Regions from separate parts of the Homo sapiens genome. Here region 1 is linked to region 2. The links are contacts of gene promoters, found by promoter capture Hi-C in human tissues and cell types (Jung and others, 2019). All regions are on one chromosome and are shown on one strand. The core of a region is centred on a gene start or on the middle of the fragment in contact, and the rest is flanking DNA. Distances in the headings are between cores, read along the strand shown. Region 1 has its middle 47 kb from the start of KLHDC7A. Region 2 holds the start of KLHDC7A (kelch domain containing 7A).

Region 1 (6,500 bases), core at 2,788-5,287, 48 kb after region 2:
AAAGAGTGGGATGGAGAGAACTCAGTCTTCCCTTGTTTACTGTCCAGCCAGCCCAGAGTCTGCTGCTGTGGTCAGTTCAGGCCATTCTTCTCATCATACTACAAGCAGCAAAGGTCATGGTTAGGCTTGTATTTTTAAAGACTAGCATCTAGTAAAAGATGAATTGGAAGAAGCGGGCAGGGCCACGTTATGACTTCATGGGCCTTTTGGCACTTGTGTATTCATGGGTTCCTTCCTCCATAAAAATATTAGAAATTATATTTTACCATGTGTTGGTATAAAGGTAAATCTATTTTTTACAGTACTACACTATTTATTGAAAATTTTTATGCATATATACAAAATATGCTATGTTACATGTATTAATAGAGATAGAAAAATCATTTTAAATCTGTGATTTAAATCTGTTGTAAAGGTGAAAATATTAATATCATATGTTAAAACATTTTTATTGACCTAAAAGTTTGGTTTTTCTTCTGACTTTAAAATATCTTCATGGGTTCCCCTAAAAGTATCATGGGCCATAGGTACTGGGCCTACTGTGCCCATTGGATAAGTCAGCAGCCCTGGGGACAAGACACAGGGAGACCATGCAGGAGGCATCACAATAGTCACTGGGGTCCATGCTGATGCAGTCGCCATAATGATGGAGAGGCTGGTGAGAAAGGTATTTGATGAGCTATAGTGAAGTGAACACAGATATTCTTCATGGAAAGATAAGGATGGAGGGTGGAGGGGAAGAAGCAGAGGCCCAGCAAACAGAGAAGTACCACTGCCTCCCACATCTCATACACTATAAATGAAGATAGACAGAAGGAAGCTAATTGGAGCCATTTGCAGCCTAAATGGAACTGCTTCCTCATCCCTCCAATGGGACAGACCCACCTGGGAAACCAAGCATCCAGAGCAGCCAGTATTTAAGAGCTTGCTCGTTCAAGCACATCACTGCTAAATGAGCCTCTCATGCCATAGCGGAGACACTGGCATTCTGGAGTTCCAGAACAGGGTCAGGGACCTGGCCCTCAGCTAAGATGCTCCTTCAGCTTCATCCTTCAGTGGGCAAGCTGCTCACCTGGCATCGATGCCCCATGCAGAGCCCACACAACAACAGGAGCAGGCCACAACGTTGCCCAGACTTCTAGCTATGGTCAGCGTGTTGCTTCTCCATGAGCTGAGCCAGCAGCTTGGGAGAAAGAGAAATGGGTCCCAATTAAGGGCTGCCTCAAGCTGTGGCAGGATGTCAGCAGGTCCCTCCAGCTACCTACACACACACACACACACACACACACACACACACACACACACACACATACCTTTCTCCTATTCTTTCTTACAAAGCTGGGTCAGCATTCACTGCCTCAAATTCTGTCACAAAACCTAAGGCTCAGCTCCCTGCAAAGCAAAAAGAAAGCAGGAATGTGAAGCTTTCTGTGCCCTCATTCTACAAATGAACTTATTAATACTTTCCACAAATGTCTTGATATAGATCCCTGAAATCTCTTCCTTGCATTTCCCCAGCAGAGGTCAGGCACTTTGCCAAGGGGACTCTTGGGTACCTACCTATTGTTCCCAGACCAAGTTTGAACAATCCCAGTTGTTCCCAAACTTTAGTGTGCATCAGAATCACCCGGAAAGCCTGTTAAAATGCTGACTGCAGGGCCCCAGCCTCAGGGTTTCTGGTCCAGCAGGTCTGGGTGTCCCAAGGACCTGCATTCCTAGCATGTTCCCAGTTGATGCTGATACAGCACCTTGGGGACCACACTTTGAGAACCACTGCCTTTACCCATTTCCAACTTTTTGCTTTTCTGCTTTTGACCTTCCTGCCTGTCCTCCAAATCCTTACTTTTCCACTGTTTCTTTTTTTCAATCTGTTTTTTTTATTTTATTATTATTATACTTTAAGTTTTAGGGTACATGTGCACAATGTGCAGGTTAGTTACATATGTATACATGTGCCATGCTGGTGTGCTGCACCCATTAACTCGTCATTTAGCATTAGCCACTGTTTCTTACATGTCTCCTAACTTGACTTTCCGCCCAAGCCCTTGGCTCCTCCGAGCTCCAGTGCAGCCATGCTACCTGTGGCCTTCATGACTAGACTCCCCCACCCAGCTCTGCCCCAGGAGGAAGGCACCAGCTGTGGCTCTCATGGGGCCTTTTACTTTTTAAGAACCCCTCTACATGATTCACCTTACATGTTGGAGAGGATTCTCTGTCCACACTAAGTGCTTATCAGAGAATAATCAAAGAGACTTCTCTTGTGTTGAGCAAGGGGATCCTGGGGTTAGAAATGCCCCCTACATCTCACTTCAGCCACAGAGGAAGCCCTATCTCACATATCAGGAAACTGAGCTGCACATCAGTTAGTGACTAGTCCAGAAAGGGTCCTGCTGGTTCACGACAGAGATGAGTGTCCCAGCCAGGTCTTCTGATGCCAGGTTCCTTGCTCTTCCCACTTGCAATCAGCTTCTGTATCTGTTGGGAATGCTTTCAGCTGCAACTAACATAATCCCCAGGTAACAGTGGCCGAAACCCACCAAGGTGCATTTTTCTCATTCATGGTCATGTATTTTCTTAGAAGTCTGGAGGTAAGATGTTTTAGGACTAGGTCAGTGGTTCACTGATTATCAGGGCACAGGCGGCCTTTGCAATTCTCTGACCTTTATCTCAGGATCACAAGATTGCAGTCACAGTTCAGGGATAGTATTCTCCCTATGGCCATGTTAAAGCCAGCACATAGGGGCTTACAAGATGCAGATTTTCCCCTGACTTGTTTCTCTCTTATGAAGGAGGAAGCTCCCTCTCCCAGCTGATTTCCCCTTACACCCATTAGCCAGAACTAGACAGGCAGGGAAGTTCTGCTATCAAAGAGAAAAGATGGTGATAGCTTTGGGGCAAGCAACCAAGACGGTGTACCACAGCATCCTCCTGAAATAAGTGTCCCACAGGATTCTGGAAGCTTCTGGATGGCCAACACATTCAAGCCTATTGGACTGTAAAACCGCTGATCTGTGTCCTAGTCTTCTTTCTGTTCTCAGTGTCTGACACACTAAATCTGTGCATTCAACACACATCAATTCATTCCCATGTGCCTGCTACGTATCAAACACTGCAGCAGGCATTGGACCAGGATGGCATAGTAGAAAGGGCATGAGCTTTAGAATCAGACCGGATTATCTTCAAATCTCACCATTTTCAAGCTGTGTGACCTCAGGCAAGCCGCTTCACCTCTCTGTGCCTCACTTTTGTCATTGCAGAGTGGTCATGAAGACTTAACACACATCAGGCACGGGACACATAGTCATTCAATGGATGAGAGCTGATGATAATGACCTAAGAAGGGGTGGCACATGGCACACTGGCCACACCCTCAATTAACACACTGCCAAGTCTCAGGACTCACAACCCAGCAAAAGAGATAGACAACAAAACACAAAATCACAGCGTAATGGGACAGGAGTGGAGATGGCACTAAAACAACACAGAGAAGGGGGTGGCCAATGCATCTACGCACTTACAACAGCTTTCCCACACAGCACCTTAGCAAGCGGGTCTGATCTATCTCACCACTGGGCGGGGGGGGGGGGGGGGGTGGTGGGGGCAAAGGGATGAGTCACCATCATGCAGAGCTTCAGTTCCTTTGGAAAGCCACCATGAAAAACATGGAATGAGGCCAGGTGTGGTGGCTCATGCCTGTAATCCCAGGACTTTGGGAGGCCTGGGCGGGAGGATTGCTTGAGGCCAGGAATTTCAGACCAATGTGGGCAACATTGTGAGACCTCCTCTTTATAAAAAATAAAATAAAATAAGCTGGGCATGGTGGTGTGGACCTGTAGTCCCAGCTACTTGGGAGGTTGAGGCAGGAGGATCACTTGGGTCTGGGACGTTGAGGATGCAGTGAGCATGATCATGCCACTGCATGCCATCGTGAGTGACAGACCAAGACCCTGTCTCAAAAATAAAAAATCTAGGAGATAGGCATGATGATTAACTCCATTATCAGTTGAAGAAACAGAGGCACAGGGAGGTAATACATTTGAACCCCAGGCCCCAACTCTGGAGCCTGTGTTCTCACCATTACGTTACACTGCCTCCCTGAGATGGGTTACAAGGCATCTTCCCTGCTCAAGGACTCTGTTTGGCAGATGCCATTTGCTTACCTGGGGGATATCCAGGTGAGGCTGGATTTGAATGTATTCCCACCATGAAGAGCGGCTGGCAAGGCCTCATCACACCTCAACTCCCTGCCTAGTCCAGATAGGAGGGGGATTCTGTACTCCATTCTGTACTTCCAAGGGGATGTGGGCAGAATGGCACAGGCCCAAGTGATGCCAGTGGTACCTCAGCTCTTGGCAGTATTTCTTCTTCATTGTCGTTGAAGTCCTGAATTCCCAGGCCATGCTGCAGGATCCTCCATCCCTTTCCTGGCCCCTCATCTACACCAGCTTCTAGGCTGGGCACCAGATACAGGCAGAGATGTTGTACCAGATTCAACCTCAGCCCCTGAAGGGCTCAAGATCTAGGAAAGAACACAAAAGACCAATGTTTGCAAGGCTGCCTGCAGAAGCTTAGAGGAAGACATCTCACCCAGCCTTGGAGAAATGATGGTTAGGGGAGTCTACAGTGAGATACTGCAAGATACCGCACACTGGCTCATGAACAGAGCCCAGCCAGGTGAAGCATTTGGGAGAGGTGATAATAATAACAGCAAACACTTACTGTGGCAGGCGCCTGTCTAAACACTCCACTGAAGTTAATTCACCAGGATTCAGAAACAACCCAGTAAGGTAGGTGATAGGATTTGGCTGCGTCCCCACCCAAATCTCATCTTGAATTGTAGCTCCCATAATTCCAACGTGCTGGGGGAGAAACCCAGTGGGAGACAATTGAACCTTGGGGGCAGTTCCCCCATACTGTTCTCACGGCAGTGACTAACTCTCACAAGATCTGACAGTTTTGTAAGGGGAAACCCCTTTCACTTGTCTCTCATTCTCTCTCTTACCTGCTGCCATGTAAGACATGTCTTTCTCCTTCCACCATGATTGTGAGTCCTCCCCAGCCACACGGAACTGTAAGTCCGTTAAACTTCTTTTTCTTTATAAATTACCCAGTCTTGGGTATGTCTTTATCAGCAGTGTGAAAATGGACTAATATAGTAGGTATGCCTATCATCTCCATTTTAGAGATAGGAAACTGAGGCACAGAAAGGTTAAAGAGCTTGTCCAATATCATTGAAATAGTAGACAGTGAAGCCAGCATCTGGTTCTGGCCTCTGGGCTCTCAACCTCCACACCATGCTGGAGAGTGTTCCCTGCTGAACAGCAGCTCCTGCAAAGGCCTGGGCACCTGGCAGCAAGGTCCACCCAGGGCAGCCAACAGTGGTGAGGCTGGAGAGACCAGCAGTCAGCTTTTGTTCACTGACACAGCTATGGAGCGGGCTGACAGCAGTCCAACCATGCACCATGCGGGAAAGCCGGTCAGTTCTCTCCACTCCCCTGGCTGATTGACAGCAGACCCATAGACTCAATCCCCAAAGACCTAACCCTGATTCCAGCCCCAGCCTGAACCCAGCCTCGGTTTCTGCAAAACCTTCCCCAGTTAATTAGATACATGGAGATCATCCAACCCACCAGGCAGTTTTCCACACTCCCTCCTCACTGTCTGCTCTCACCCCTGCCTGGTCTGGTATCCATAATGCATTTTCACAACTTATGTATGCCCTTTATGGGATCTTTTAATATCTCTCCTCAAACCACACCTGGCTAATTTGCTAAGCACTGAACCAAAATCCAGAACCACCCAGCAGATAAATTAAGGAACAACTGTTTCCCTTTCAGGAAGATGGACCAAAAAAGTCACCAAACAGCAAACTCTTTTTCAATGCCAGTGCATTATAGAAGGATTCTATTTTTAAATCAATCCACAAATGTTTGTCCTATTGATTTTGTTGATTTGTTTATATATACCCTGTCTCATTCCACTAAAAAAAAGGCTTGTGCAAGTTTCAAAATACATGTAACAATTACAATAAATAGATGTAGAGTCAGGACAAAGAAAAGCAAAGGTAGGAAATAAAATAATGCAAGGAGTTTTATTCAGCTTCAAAATATCCTGTACAGTTTGCTTTGGTTGGGTAGCTTGCTGAGTTTGAGCTTCCTGGTGGCCAAGGCAAGGACAAGTGTATTCATTAAACAGATTCCTAGGGCTCCACCATCAGTGGGGGGGCCTGCCATTCACCCACCCCTGATGGCACAGTTGCTTATCTTTGAACACAGATGGGCAATGGTCCCCAAGGCCCAGACAAGCCACCTTCTCGACCAGCGATGTCCCTTCCCCTGGGCTCCTAGAAGTTCTTACTCTTAAGATAAGAAGGGGTGGGCTACCCTCTTTTGAAGCCTCCTAGGTTCCAGGCATTGTGCCAAGTACTCTATGTGTCTTAACTTACCTAATCCCACATCTATGAGGTTCAAATTTCCAGCTCCAACATCTACTTGGAACCC
Region 2 (6,514 bases), core at 2,541-5,040:
ATGTGAGGTCACATCTCACCAAGGGGGCATTTCATATGTCTCCCCTTCTCCAAGGGTAAAGACATATGACATATGAACATATGACAGCCACCAGTGGGACAGGCTGAGGACACCTACTTCCTAAGAGGTCACACCTGCTGGATGAAGTCAGGTCTGTAAAACTCTGGACTCTGCAAACAAGGTTTTGGGTCCCCATTTACAAGCCAGTTGACATAATCTTGGAGGTCCAGTTACCCCTGCTGTCAAATGGGGATAACAAACATGTCTCTCCCCAAAGGGGCTGTGAGCATGAGATGGGATGAGATGAGCTTCATACCCCTACCAGTGGAATGGTAGCCTGGCCCCTCATCAGCCTCAACAAAGCATTTTTCACCCCTGGAAAAATCATTTTTATTGCCCCAAACACCTCATTCTCTAGTTTCTAGATGAAGACAATGGGCTGTGCAGCAAGAAACATTATAAATCAGGATTTGTCACTCTCAGTCCATTGGCATTGTCTCTCTTAGCCTCGATGTCCTGATCTGTAAAATGGGGACAATGATAATAACCACCTCTCCAGATTACTGGGAAAATTAAATAATTTTACTTATACAAAGCACCCAGGACTTCATTCCCATTCTGTTACTCACCTTGAGTATGTAACCAAGAGGAATTGATTATGTAACTTGAGAGGAACTGCTCACCCACCATCCAAGAATGAACAGGAATTTTCAGCAGACAAGTAGAAAAGCTAACTTATTTTTAATTCCTAGGCTCACTAAAAACTCCTGAGATGATTGTTAAAAATGGAGGTTTCCTGGGACCCACCCAGCCCACTGAATCAGGACATCTAAAAGGTAGAGCTTAGAAATTTGCATCCCTGGCTTGGCGTGGTGGCTCACATCTGTAATCCCAGCACTTTGGGACGCCAAGGCGGGTGGATCACCCGAGGTCAGGAGTTCGAAACCAGCCTGACTAATATAGTGAAACCCCATCACTGCTGAAAATACAAAAATTAGCCAGGCGTGGTGGTGTGCACCTATAGTCCCAGCTACTCAGGAGGCTGAGACAGGAGAATTGCTTGAACCTGGGAAGCGGAGGTTGCAGCGAGCCAAGATCATGCCACTGCACTCTAGCCTGGGTGACAGAGTGAGACTTCATCTCAAAAAAAAAAAAAAAACCCAGCCTGGTCAACATGGTGAAACCCCGTCTCTACTAAAAATACAAAAATTAGCTGGGCGTGGTGGTGCATGCCTGTAATCCCACCTACTCGGGAGGCTAAGGCAGGAGAATCGTTTGAACCCTGGAGACAGAGGTTGCAGTGAGCTGAGATTGTGCCATTGCACTCCAGCCTGGGTGACACTCTGTCTCAAAAAAGAAAGAGAAAAAGAAAGAAAGGGAGAAAGGGAGAGAGAGAGAGAGAGTTAAGAAGGAGGGAAGGAAGGAAGGGAGGGAGGGAGGGAAGGGAAGGGAGGGAGGGAGGGAGGAAAGAAGGGAGGGAGGAAAGAAGGGAGGGAGGGAGGAAGGAAGGAAGGAAGGAAGGAAGGAAGGAAGGCAGGCAGGCAGGCAGGCAGGCAGGCAGGCAGGCAGGCAGGCAGGCAGGCAAGCTGCATCTCTAACAAGCACCCCTTGTGATCCTTGTGCACATTGCATTGATAGGCACTCTTTTGACCAGGATGGAAAGAAAGAGAATTCAGGGGACCCCTCTTGACAGCTACCAGTGGGACAGGCTGAGGACACCTGACTTTCTAAGAGGTCACACCTGCTGGATGAAGTCAGGTCTGTAAAACTCTGGACTCTGCAAACAAGGTTTTGAGTCCCCATTTACAAGCCAGTTGACATAATCTTGGAGGTCCAGTTACCGCTGCTGTCAAATGGGGATAACAATCGTGTCTCTCCCCAAAGGGGCTGTGAGCATGAGACGAGATGAGATGAGCTTCATCCCGAGTGTTCACCCCAATCCACTCAGTGTAAAGACAATCCCTGCTGGCTATTGTCCCAAATGGTGCAGGGCCCCACATAGGCTTAGGGTCCACAGCTGAGCCAGCTACAGCCTCTGTCCTCAAGGACTTAGAATGCAGCAGACCAGATCTTGCACACAATGCACTTTACGATGCAGCAGCTGTGGCCAAGCCTAAAAGAGGAGCATCAGAGAACACGAGACCCAAAGGAAGAAAAGGTGATCTTGGACGGATGAAGGCACCAGGGAAGAAGGCCCAGACACAGCCTTTTACCCAACTCTGATGGGCCAGAGGGATGTCCACCAGCCTTCCCTGCCAAGAAGTCACCCTGAGCCCGGTTTGCTAGGCAGTGATCAGGAGATGCATCTGGAAGAGTAAACCGAAGCTGGTACACAGAGAGTTGTGAACGTCGGCATAGGGAGTCAGGATTGTCTCCTAGAGTCAAAGCCTTCAGAGCCAAATTCCTCCCATGCGTGTGCTTCCTGTGGCCCACAGTGTTTTTCAGTTTCATTTTTGAATCAGATGCCAACATTTTAAAATTGAGAGTGATTATGTCACTACTGGGATTCTAAGCTTTTTGCGACAGTGGGAGGATGAGGCAATGCTGGGCCTGATACCATCGGCTGGGGTGGGGCGGACAGACGTCCTTACTTGTTCACTTTACCTACCCAGCCTCCATATGCAGCAAGAGTTTGAGACCCCTGCACAGGACTTTGGGGACTCTTTGAGGACCTTGGTCAGGAGAAGGGTAGAATTAGTTCTGTGCTTTGGAAGGTCCTCTGATGACAATTGATACTAGCGATGATGGTGCCGATGATCAGAAAGAGGAAAAGGAGGAAGAAGCAGAGAATAGTTCATATTTACTAAGCTTTCATGATGGGGGCTCTGCCCCAGTGTTTATTCCTAGTAGCCCATTTAGTTCTCCCCACAAGCTGATGAGGTGCGTATGCTGTCATCCTCCTTTTTCAGACAAAGCACAGAGCGGTGAGGTCTCTTGCCTAAGGTCATATAGTTGGTAAGTAGCAGAGCCAGGTAGTCTGGGTCCAGGACCCACAGCACTGGTGATGGGGGAGGGGAAATGGTGAGGGGGGGTCTGGGAGACGTGAGTCTTCCCTCAATCTTTCACCGTAGGAGATTGTCTGGTTTTAAAAGAGAAGATGTGTCCACATCTAACCCCGATCTGAGCACTAATGCAATGTCTTTCTCCACTGTTCTCAGAAAGGCTGGTTTTTCTTAATAAACTTGTCAGGCAGGGAAGGAGGGCAGAGGCACTCAAGGGCCGGCTCAGGTGGCTTGGCTGCATGCCCTGGCTCCAGACTCCACTGCCATGTTCCCGTTCCCTGCTTGGCCAGCATAAAGTTGACCCCACTGTGAGGACCAGCAGACCTCACAAGAATGACCCCATCCACGCCTACTGGGGCTCCACCTGCCCATGACTCACCACACCCAAGCCTCTGAGCCCAGTGGACTTGCAAAAGAGAAAATAAAGCACACACATAAAGAATAACCAACCCCATGCATTTCCTGGCATCGGGTGACTGTTTGGTTAAGAGCTTCCTCCTCTTTTGTATGCCCACTGGATACTCCTAACATCCCCTAGCTGCTGACCACAGAGCTGGCTTAGGTGGCTGATCACAAGCTCAGCCCCTGGGCGGGCCCCCCACCCCAGCCACCAGGGAAGCATGGAAGGAGGCCAGCCGCTGGGATCTGCCAGCTCTGGGCCCCAGCGGCCACCCTCTGCAGCTCAAAGTCACCTTTGCTCCTCTCCTCTCCTCGGCTGGCCAGCCAGAACCAGCCCAGAACTCCCTCCCCTCCGCTCAGCAGGACCCAGGAACTGGTCCCTACTGGGCAATTATTAATCAGATTCTTGACATTCCTCAGCCCCAGGTTGGCTGGAGAAGCATGTTCCCCAGAGGAGCAGAGGCCCAGGACTGGCATTTGGATATGCAGCTGACCGGCAAGGTGGTGCTGTCAGCCGCTGCCCTGCTCCTGGTGACTGTGGCCTACAGGCTGTACAAGTCGAGGCCTGCCCCAGCCCAGCGGTGGGGTGGGAATGGCCAGGCAGAAGCCAAGGAGGAAGCAGAGGGCTCAGGGCAGCCTGCTGTACAGGAGGCTTCTCCTGGGGTGCTCCTGAGGGGGCCAAGACGTCGGAGGAGCAGCAAGCGGGCTGAAGCACCACAGGGCTGCAGCTGTGAGAATCCAAGAGGCCCCTATGTCCTGGTCACGGGGGCCACTTCCACAGACAGGAAGCCCCAGAGAAAAGGCTCAGGTGAGGAGCGGGGCGGGCAGGGCTCGGACTCTGAGCAGGTGCCTCCTTGCTGCCCCAGCCAGGAAACCAGAACAGCTGTTGGCAGTAACCCTGACCCTCCCCATTTCCCCCGCTTGGGCAGCGAACCGAAGAGCTCCCCAGCTGGACTCATTGCAGCAGCCGACGGCAGCTGTGCCGGTGGTGAGCCTTCTCCATGGCAGGACAGTAAACCCCGTGAGCATCCAGGACTGGGGCAACTAGAACCTCCCCACTGTCACTACGTGGCTCCCTTGCAAGGCAGCAGTGACATGAACCAGAGCTGGGTCTTCACCCGTGTGATAGGGGTCAGCAGAGAAGAGGCTGGGGCTCTCGAGGCTGCCTCCGATGTTGACCTGACCCTGCATCAGCAGGAGGGCGCCCCCAACTCCTCCTATACCTTCTCATCCATAGCCCGCGTCCGAATGGAGGAGCATTTCATACAGAAGGCGGAGGGGGTTGAGCCCCGGCTCAAGGGCAAGGTGTACGACTACTATGTGGAATCTACCTCTCAGGCCATCTTCCAGGGCAGGCTGGCTCCCAGGACAGCAGCCCTGACTGAGGTTCCATCCCCTAGGCCACCGCCAGGGTCCCTGGGAACAGGGGCTGCCTCGGGAGGCCAAGCCGGTGACACAAAGGGTGCAGCCGAAAGAGCCGCCTCCCCGCAGACAGGGCCGTGGCCCTCCACCCGAGGCTTCAGCCGGAAGGAGAGCCTTCTGCAGATAGCGGAGAACCCAGAGCTGCAGCTGCAGCCAGATGGCTTCCGGCTCCCCGCTCCACCCTGCCCAGACCCGGGCGCCCTGCCTGGCTTAGGCAGAAGCAGCCGGGAGCCCCATGTGCAGCCGGTGGCCGGGACCAATTTCTTCCATATCCCGCTCACCCCTGCTTCAGCCCCACAGGTCCGCCTGGATCTGGGCAATTGCTATGAGGTGCTGACCTTGGCCAAGAGGCAGAACCTGGAGGCCCTGAAAGAGGCGGCCTACAAGGTGATGAGCGAAAACTACCTGCAGGTGCTGCGCAGCCCGGACATCTACGGGTGCCTGAGCGGGGCAGAGCGCGAGCTGATCCTGCAGCGCCGGCTCCGGGGCCGCCAGTACCTGGTGGTGGCTGACGTGTGCCCCAAGGAAGACTCCGGCGGCCTCTGTTGCTATGACGATGAGCAGGATGTCTGGCGCCCGCTGGCTCGCATGCCCCCCGAGGCCGTGTCCCGGGGCTGTGCCATCTGCAGTCTCTTCAATTATCTCTTCGTGGTGTCCGGCTGCCAGGGGCCCGGGCACCAGCCCTCCAGCCGCGTCTTCTGCTACAACCCGCTCACGGGGATCTGGAGCGAGGTGTGCCCGCTGAACCAGGCCCGGCCGCACTGCCGGCTGGTGGCCCTGGACGGGCACCTGTATGCCATCGGCGGAGAGTGTCTGAACTCGGTGGAGCGTTACGACCCCCGCCTGGACCGCTGGGACTTTGCCCCGCCGCTCCCCAGTGACACGTTCGCCCTGGCGCACACGGCCACGGTGCGTGCCAAGGAAATCTTCGTCACCGGCGGCTCGCTGCGCTTCCTGCTGTTCCGCTTCTCTGCGCAGGAGCAGCGCTGGTGGGCCGGCCCCACCGGGGGCAGCAAGGACCGCACGGCCGAGATGGTGGCGGTCAACGGCTTTCTCTACCGCTTTGACCTCAACCGCAGCCTGGGCATCGCCGTGTACCGCTGCAGCGCCAGCACCCGGCTCTGGTACGAGTGCGCCACGTACCGGACGCCTTACCCGGATGCCTTCCAGTGCGCCGTGGTGGACAACCTCATCTACTGCGTGGGACGCCGGAGCACCCTCTGCTTCCTAGCAGACTCTGTCTCACCCAGGTTTGTGCCCAAGGAGCTGCGGAGTTTCCCGGCCCCGCAGGGCACCCTCCTGCCCACCGTCCTGACCTTGCCCACCCCCGATTTGCCTCAGACCAGGGTCTAGCAGTCCCTCAACTGAGCTCCTCATGCAAAGCTGGGGGCCACCGGGCTCCACTGCCAGCCGTCCCTCTGGGGGCCATTTCTAGGCAAACAGGCAACCCAGGAATGTGGCCATCAAGAGGTGAATTCCGGTCCTTTCTCCTCCCCTAGCTGGGGAGAGAGGGATCTTAGATGAGTCTTACCCTTCATGGGCTGCAGAGGCCCCACTGCAGAAAAGAGGACCAGGAGCTGGTGTTCCAAGGCAGAAGGCATTCATGTCTTCAGGGATGACCGCCCTTGCTTCAACTCTGAATTCTTGGGGGGATACACCGGGACCCCACCAAAGCTTAGGGGGCATAGTCT

The links. Contacts are between HindIII fragments. The study calls those that stand out against the background at their distance.
Region 1: a contact is called between a fragment that was not itself captured here and the fragment with the promoter of KLHDC7A in region 2, in 1 of the 25 tissues and cell types used here (pancreas).

Annotation. Positions count from the first base shown.
Region 1 is chr1:18,524,480-18,530,979 of GRCh38, forward strand. No RefSeq gene overlaps it. Among named protein-coding and RNA genes, the nearest start is that of KLHDC7A, 47 kb to the left of the region's middle. The HindIII fragment of the contact is 3,693 bases long and covers 2,192-5,884 here.
Region 2 is chr1:18,477,140-18,483,653 of GRCh38, forward strand. It overlaps KLHDC7A (kelch domain containing 7A), which reads left to right and starts at 3,791. Exons shown (of 1, transcript NM_152375.3): 1 at 3,791-6,514. The coding sequence starts at 3,843. The coding sequence ends at 6,176. RefSeq lists enhancers at 2,869-3,741, 3,742-4,613. The HindIII fragment of the contact is 16,937 bases long and covers 1-6,514 here.